Linked DNA regions of Homo sapiens: region 2 is linked to region 1. The links are contacts of gene promoters, found by promoter capture Hi-C in blood cells and fetal thymus (Javierre and others, 2016). All regions are on one chromosome and are shown on one strand. Each heading gives the region's core, a stretch centred on a gene start or on the middle of the fragment in contact. The rest is flanking DNA. Distances are from core to core; before and after follow the strand shown.

Region 1 (4,424 bases), core at 547-3,046:
ACCATAAAAACCCTAGAAGAAAACCTAGGCAATACCATTCAGGCAACAGGCATGGGAAGGACTTCATGACTAAAACACCAATAACAATGGCAACAAAAGCCAAAATTGACCAATGGGATCTAACTAAATTAAAGAGCTTCTGCACAGCAAAAGAAACTACCATCAGAGTGAACAGACAACCTACAGAATGGGAGAAAATTTTTACAATCTACCCATCTGACAAACGGCTAATATCCAGAATCTACAAAGAACTTACATAAATTTACAAGAAAAAATCAACCAACCCCATCAAAAAATGGGCAAAGGATATGAACAGACACTTCTCAAAAGAAAACATTTATGCAGGCAACAGACACATGAAAAAATGCTCATCATCACTGGCCATCAGAGAAATGCAAATCTAAACCACAATGAGATACCATCTCACACCAGTTAGAATGACAGTCATTAAAAAGTCAGGAAAAAACAGGTGCTGGAGAGGATGTGGAGAAATAGGAACACTTTTACACTGTTGGTGGGACTCTAAACTAGTTCAACCATTGTGGAAGACAGTGTGGCGATTCCTCGAGGGACTAGAACTAGAATTTGACCCAGCCATCTCATTACTGGGTATATACCCAAAGGATTATAAATCACGCTGCTATAAAGACACATGCACACATATGTTTATTGTGGCACTATTCACAATAGCAAAGACTCGTGAACCATCCCAAATGTCTATCAATGATAGACTGGATTAAGAATATATGGCACATATGCACCATGGAATAGTATGCAGCCATAAAAAAGGATGAGTTCATGTCCTTTGTAGGGACATGGATGAAGCTGGAAACCATCATTCTGAGCAAACTATTGCAAGGACAGAAAACCAAACACCGCATGTTCTCACTCATAGGTTGGAATTGAACAATGAGAATATTTGGACACAGGGAGGGGAACACCACACACCGGGGCCTGTCGTGGGGTGGGGGGAGGGGGGAGGGATAGCATTAGGAGATATACCTAATGTAAATGACAAGTTAACGGGTGCAGCACACCAACATGGCACATGTATACATATGTAACAAACCTGTACATTGTGAACTTAAAGTATAATAATAATAAAAAAAGGTAAAAAAAAAAAAGTAGACACATACTATAATCACCTTGAAAAAAAAAGAAAGTCTTTCAAAGAGATAAAAAATTCCATATACTCCACTTCCTACAATTCTGGCAGTTTCCAAATACTTTTACTTATGTGAAAATGCTATCATATCCAAGAGTGCCTTTAGAGCTAAGCTAACAGTAGGCTACTGATCTTTAGCACATTGCTTTTTCTGTTGTGTTATTCAGGGGGCTTTCTCACATTTATGTTTCCATTTTTCACATTTCACAACTTTCTTTGGAGCACAGATATTTCAGGAAGATTTTAGAGCCTTTGAATAGCATTATGGACTTTTTTGCATTAATTTTTACTTTTACAAAATTGTGCTAAATATTATTTCTGTTAATTAGTGAGTTTTGTTGGGGGCCCCTTAAATTGGAACCCCAGGCTATGCCTCATTTGCTTCACTCTGGTCCTGGCCCTGAGAGAGGAACACAAAAGGGATGGTTAGAAAAACAAGAACAAATGAGCCTCCCAGAATTTTCTCAAACAACAGGCCAGTTAATTAAGGAAAGTAGATATTACATAGCTAGGTATAATGAACATGCAGTCAGTGGATTGTCTCAGTAATTTATGGAGATAACCACCAACAAAAAGTGTATGTGGGTGGGGACAAAAGAGAGACAACAAAGTACTGCAGGCAGAAAGCTTCCTTTTGCTGATTTTGCCTCACAGAATTGAGAGTTTGTTCTTACACACAAGTTTAATGCCACCTTCCTCTGTCTGCCATGGACCAACAAGCAATATATGCTGAGTTAAACTTACCCACAGACTCAGGCCCAGAAAGTTCTTCACCTTCATCTCTTCCTCGGGGTAAGTGGCTTTAATTTTCCTTTCGGCATTTGTATGTCTTCCAGAATTAGATCTTCCTGTTACATTTATGGCTTTAAATCATTGCTTTAAAGATGAGCAGTAGTTTTATATTAATGTTTAACGGGTGTTGCATGGCTTGCCTGTAGATAATCACAACTTTGGGAAAAAAAATTTAAACCTCATACATTTATTTTTTTCAATCAAGTTAGCATGAAAAGCAAACATCACTTGTCTTACTGAGCCTTGGTTAAAAGACTCTGAACACTTTAGGCTACCCTGGGCACACTGCCTATTGGTTACCCCTGCTCTACAGGGATGGAAAGAAGGAAGAAAGAAAGAAAGAAAGAAAAGAAAGAAAGAAAGAAAGAAAGAAAGAAAGAAAGAAAGAAAGAAAGAAAGGAAGAAAGAAAGAAAGAAAGGAAAGAAAGAGAAAGAAAAGAAGAAAGAAAGAAAGGAGAGAAAGAAAAAGAAAGAGAGAGAAAGGAAAGGAAAGAAAGAAAAAGAGAAGGAGGAAGGAAGGAAGGATGGAAGGAAGGAAGGAAAAATATTTTACATGTATGAACTAAGGAATATTTAAGACACATTGCAAACTTGCTGTAATAACAACCTACGTTATTCCAAATTCCTCTACAAAATATCAATACTATGATTAAGTCCCAGTGCATTTTCATCCATAATATTCCTTTCAGAATACAACGTGTAGGCCAGTTGCAGTGGCTCATGCCTGTAATCCCAACACTTTGGTAGGCTAAGGTGATTTGCTTGAGTCCAGGAGTTTAAGGCCAGCCTGGGCAATGTGGCAAAACCTCATCTCTACAAACAATACAAAAAAATAGCCAAGTGTGGGGCACGTGCCTGTGGTCCTAGCTACTCGGGAGGCTGAGGTGAGAGGATTGCTTGAGCCCAAGAGATCAAGGCTGCAGTGAGCTGTAATTGTGCCACTGTACTCCAGCCTGGGTGACACAGCAAGACTATCTCAAAAAAAAAAAAAAAATATATATATATATATATATATATATACTTTTTATACATATATTTTATATATTTTATATATATATATATACTTTTTATACATATATTTTATATATTTTATATATATATATATAAAGTGTAGGCTTAATGAGTAACATACTTCACTCTCTCAAGAGAGGGGAACACTTTCTGGAAAAAAAATCATATTCAAGATCAAAGATTTGAATATCATTACTACCTGATAGTTTCTAGTTTGAAAAGTATCACAGCTTAGAAAGAGACAAGCCACAAAAATACTCGAGCATATCAGTAACGAACCTACTTACCATTTGTTGAAACTGGCACTTTCCTGTGTCTCTGAAGAGTTAGCATTCTGAGTGAAAGAAGCGGGGAACACCAATGTGAGGTAACACATGATGGATAGCATGGCCTGTGGATGGATGGGAAGAAACTAGAAACTGAGGCAGAAAATCAGCATGAAATTATTATGACACATTATTATTTTCTGATATCTAACTGAATTTACTATCATTGATAATATTACAATTGTTTACCAATCTGATATTCATTCCATGTCATGCCAAGCATTTGACTTGTGCTGTTTTAAGACTGTTTAAGTTTTAAACTATTGAATTCTCAAAGTTTTAAGTCAAGAAGAAAGTCTTAGAGCCGTCAATTAAGTTTCAGTATAATTTTCACATAAGAGTAGAGGAAATCAGAGGGTTCTAATAACTATAGGGAGGATTTGGTTGAGTAACATTTTTTTTTAAAGAAAAGAGTAAGTCTTTCTTTTCCTCTATTCATATCTAGCAAAAGGTGGAAAGTGGGCTTTTGTCAGAAAATGAATATAGAGGTAGTGAGACTCTTCCCAAATGTTGCTATGATCCCAAACCAATGGATGCAGAAATTTTTTCTACTTGGATTGTAATAATTATCCTATAAAATGTCATTCTGAGAGTAAACCTGAAGAAAAAATAAGAGTAGAATAAAGCCAGAGCAAAATATGTGACTATAGAACACTGGTCTGATATTGAATGACAGTAAAACCACTATTGGTCTCTGGCTAAACTGCTGAGGCTGTGGTCACTCTGTAGCAAGCACGGTGATTGTGTCTAAGGCAGTCAACAAAACCAGAAGGAGAGATGTGAGTGATAACCGATCTTGCTTATGGCCAAATGGCCAAGGGTTTGGTCTGTTAGAAAAGTGGATAAGGTGTTTGCAAAAATGCCCCTAGAGTTTATTCATTCATTAAAAAATAAGCTCCTACTCTGCACCAGGCATGCTGTGAATACAGCAGTGAACAAAATAGAGAAAATTATTTTCCTTCATAGAGTTTATAGTAAAATAGAGGCACACTTGTGGAAGACAGTATGGCGATTCCTTAAGGATCTAGAGCTAGAAATACCATTTGACCCAGTGATCCCACTACTGGGTATATACTCAAAGGATAATAAATCATGCTGCTATAAAGACACATGCACACGTATGTTTATTG
Region 2 (4,424 bases), core at 1-2,500, 250 kb after region 1:
AGTGAAATTATCCTGTTTTGGACAACAGCTTGGCCTTCGACAGTTTTATCAATCTGTACAACAAAACCCCAGCACTTATTAATCCCTGAAGTATGGAAACAAATGAGGAAGGGACTGTGTCTCCTGCATTAAACACATCGATGTCTCTGTCCCACAAGAGAAGCTCTTCACGGGGCTCCTTCCATGTTTGCTGTACAGAACCTCTCAAACGAACAACCTCATTCATGTGAAAATTCCCCAGAGCGGCCACTGCAGTTTCAAATGGTGTCTCAAGAAATTGTGTCAGAGGCATAAGATGAGTTCACACGACAGTGAGGAAATCTGAAAGCAGCAGGCGTTTGGCCTGGGGAAGAGCCACGTCCGATGAAGAAGGTCGCACGGGCACCCGAGCAGTCCGAGAAGAGACTTCGTGCCTCCAGAGCTTGGTCAGAGGCCACAGGCTGATTGTCCCCAATCCTCCTGATTCCAGGCAGAGGGAACTTTAAAGTGAGCAGTTCTCAGGAACCACACAGAGACAAAGTTGAGGGGAAAATCCACCCTTAGGTATGAAAACAGTGACCTGGGGCAAAGCTCATTCCAATGAATGCTAGTCTGAGGGGAACTCCTGAGCACTGTGACCTCCAAGACCAGCTTGAGGACAGACTTCCCGGGCCCCTATCAACTACTGAATTTTCCACTTAGAGACAACGCTTAGAACATTCGACCACCAGATAGACATAGGAGCATTTCTCAGAAGGCTAGACAGCAGTTTCACCGTGGAGCGGGGCAAATCTGATCAGATCACCAGGAAAAGTCGCACAGCACCTCATTCCCAGAACAGAGCACACCTGAAGCGGAGGGGCCTCAAGGAAATATCAGCCTCCATGGGGCCTCAAGGAAATATCAGCCTCCATTCAGCCCGAGCTGCCTTCCAGCTGTGGGCCACCCGGCACCTCAGACAGAGGGAGACACCCTGTATGTCTCAGCTGTGTCCACCCTAACTGAGGCGGGGGTTCTTGTCCAAGGGGGAGGGCTTCAGCTGACTCAGGGAACCTCTATTTCTGCCAATCCTCCTAAGCTAAAAAACCACCAAGAACTCACCTGTAGCTGAACCAAAATGGGTTTATTGACTTGTTGCACAAAGGAAGAATGTCCAGCAGTAAAGAGGGCCTTCAAAAGAACTTGCTATAGATGCGGGCTCGTGGCTGGTGAGTCTCAGGAGGGCTTAGGAAGCAAGGCCTTTCTCTGGGTTGGATATCGTGCATAAAGGGACCACATGGCACAGGATTCCATTCTATGCAAAAGTGCAGAACAGGCAAATCCAGAGAGACAGAAGGTAGGTTTGTGGTTGCTGGGGGCTAGGGGAAAGAAGTGTGGAGACTGACCATGCGTATGAGGTTTCTTTGTGGAGGTGATGAAAATGTTTAGAATTAGATAGTAGTGATGGACGCACAATTTTGTGAATATATATGAAAACCACTTTAAAAGGGTGATTTTTATGTTAGGTGAATGATATCTCAATTTTTAAAAAGTGAAAATAAAAAGAGGGGCCTCAAGATTTGGTGAGCTGATAGACTGATAGCAAGAGAGGATACTAAGGAAAGACACTAAGGAACACATATTCACAAAGCAGAACCGCCCAGAGCAGCAGGCTGTCAGCCTTTATGCCAGAGCCTCTGTTGGCTTCTGTCAGTGCAACCCCGCAGACACACACAGCATCGCCATGGGCTGGCCGAGGTGCCGAGGAGCACACAGAGGACTGAGACATGGTCCCTGCACTCTGGGGGAAATGACATCTCAACACAATAATGGTGTTCATCATCAGGACCCCAAGTCATGATGAAAAGGTTAAATTATTCTCAAAATGCTCAATTGTAAGAAAGCAGAGGAGTGGATCGTAAGGAATAAATGTATGAAAAAAATTTCAAAATTGCCAACCTTTTCAAGAAATATTGAAACCTCTGGTGCAGGAAGGTAATCTGTGTGGAGTGGCAGCCAGGGAATGGGATGCTGTGTGTGTGTGGAGAGGCAAACATCCCCATAGTCTTCAGGATCCCCCGAGAGGGGCCGAGTCAGAGGCCGTCAAAGCCTCCAGTCCCCTGGGCATCCAGGGCCTCATGGCAACTGTACCAGTTGTTCTCACTTTTGTTATTCTTCCATAGAACTCAACGTGCCTCTCACGCAGGGACTCAGGATGGTGCTGAGTCCAGGTGGAGGGAAGGGGTCGGATGGGGGGCTGGGTGGGGGACATGGTGGGGGCTCTGTTGGAACCTGCCACCCTTCTGGCTCTCTACCGTGTTTTTCTTAGTTAGTGGGAGGTCTGTGAGCTCCATACCTCCAGGGCCTAGCTGTGAAGCTGTTGCTGGTGTGGATCTGTCCAATGGAGTTTGCTGGGTGGGGGAAGGTGTGAGGGAACCTCCATCTTGGAACGGCATCTCCAGAATGCAGGAGTGAGGCTGGCACACAGCACGGCCTCTGTGGACAGGGGGTCCAGGGAGGTTGGGGAGGGGCCTCAGGGATGGAGGGACAGAACTGGGGCCTCCCATTCTATCCACATCAGCCTGGTGAGTTCAGATCATCTCTTTAGCACCTTATCACCACTTCCACACTCAGGTGATTTCAAGGAACCTTAGGTCCCCAATTGCCACAAGCTTTGGGGCACAGCTCCTGCCTTGTAAAATAAATATTTTGGAGATTTTAAAGATGTAAATTCAAACTGGCTTTTGGAAAAGACAGGTTTTAAGGGATGGTTCCCATTCTAATGTCGGGGCTTTCCATCAGGCCACCCTGGGCAGAACCCGGGGGCGAAAAGAGAGAAATGAACAAAGCCTCCAAAAAATATGGGACTATGTGAAAAGACCAAATCTACAATTGACTGGTGTACCTGAAAGTGACAAGGAGAGTGGAACCAAGCTAGAAAACACTCTTCAGGATATTATCCAGGAGAATTTCCCCAACCTAGCAAGGCAGGCCAACATTCAAATTAAGGAAATACAGAGACCACCACAAAGATACTCCTCGAGAAGAGCAACCCCAAGACACATAATTGTCAGACTCACCAGGGTTCAAATAAAGGAAAAAATGGTAAGGGCAGCCAGAGAGAAAGGTTGGGTTACCCACAAAGGGGAGCCCATCAGACTAACAGCAGATCTCTCAGCAGAAACTCTACAGGCCAGAAGAGAGTAGGGGCCAATATTCAACATTCTTAAAGAAAAGAATTTTCAATCCAAAATTTCATATCCAGCCAAACTAAGCTTCATAAGTGAAGGAGAAATAAAATCCTTTATAGACAAGCAAATGCTGAGAGATTTTGTCACCATGAGGCCTGCCTTACAAGAGCTCCTGAAGGAAGCACTAAACATGGAAAGGGACAACCTGTATCAACCACTTCAAAAACATGCCAAATTGTAAAGACCATCGATGCTATGAAGAAACAGCATCAATTAATGGGCAAAATAACCAGCTAACATTGTAATGACGGGATCAAATTCACACACAAGTATATTAATGTTAAACGTAAATGGGCTAAATGCCCCTAATAAAAGACACAGACTGGCAAATTGGATAAGGAGTCAAGACCCATTAGTGTGCTATATTCAGGAGACCCATCTCAAGTGCAGGACACACATAGGCTCAAAATAAATGGATGGAGGAAGATCTGCCAAGCAAATGGAGAGAAAAAAAAAGCAGGGGTTGCAATCCTAGTCTTTGATACAGCAGACGTTAAACCAGTGAAGATCTAAAGAGACAAAGAAGGCCATTACATAATGGTAAAGGGATCAATTCAACAAGAAGAGCTAATTGTCCTAAACATATATGCACCCAATACAGGAGCACTCGGATTCATGAAGCAAGTCCTTAGAGACCTAGAAAGAGACCTAGACTCCCACACAGTAATAATGGGAGACTTCAACACCCCACTGTCCATATTAGACAGATCAATGAGACAGAAGGTTAACAAGGATATCCAGGACTTGAACTCAACTCTGCACCAAGTGGATCTAATAGACATCTACAGAACTCTCCACCCCAAATCAACAGAATATATATTCTTCTCAGCACCACATCACATTTATTATAAAATTGACCACATAATTGGAAGTAAAGCACTCCTCAGCAAATGTAAAAGAACAGAAATCACAACAAACTGTCTTTCATACCACAGTGCAATCAAATTAGAAATCAGGATTAAGAAACTCACTCAAAACCATACAACTACATGGAAACTGAACAAGCTGCTCCTGAATGACTACTGGGTAAATAATGAAATGAAGGCAGAAATAAAGATGTTCTTTGAAATCAATGAGAACAAAGACACAACGTACCAGAATCTCTGGGACACATTTAAAGCAGTTTGTAGAGGGAAATGTATAGCACTAAATGCTCACAAGAGAAAGCAGGAAAGATCTAAAATCAACACCCTAACATCATAATTAAAAGAACTA

The links. The method cuts DNA at HindIII sites, captures the fragments that hold promoters and counts their contacts. A CHiCAGO score of 5 or more calls a contact.
Region 2: a contact is called between a fragment that was not itself captured here and the fragment with the promoter of KLRB1 in region 1, in 5 of 17 cell types (M2 macrophages, total B cells, endothelial precursors and 2 more). The highest score is 7.5, in M2 macrophages.

What each region holds. Positions count from the first base shown.
Region 1 is chr12:9,605,288-9,609,711 of GRCh38, reverse strand. It overlaps KLRB1 (killer cell lectin like receptor B1), which reads left to right and starts at 1,796. Exons shown (of 6, transcript NM_002258.3): 1 at 1,796-1,957. The coding sequence starts at 1,873. The HindIII fragment of the contact is 4,730 bases long and covers 1,795-4,424 here.
Region 2 is chr12:9,358,063-9,362,486 of GRCh38, reverse strand. No RefSeq gene overlaps it. Among named protein-coding and RNA genes, the nearest start is that of LINC02367, 7.2 kb to the left of the region's middle. RefSeq lists an enhancer at 150-399. The HindIII fragment of the contact is 2,764 bases long and covers 1-2,632 here.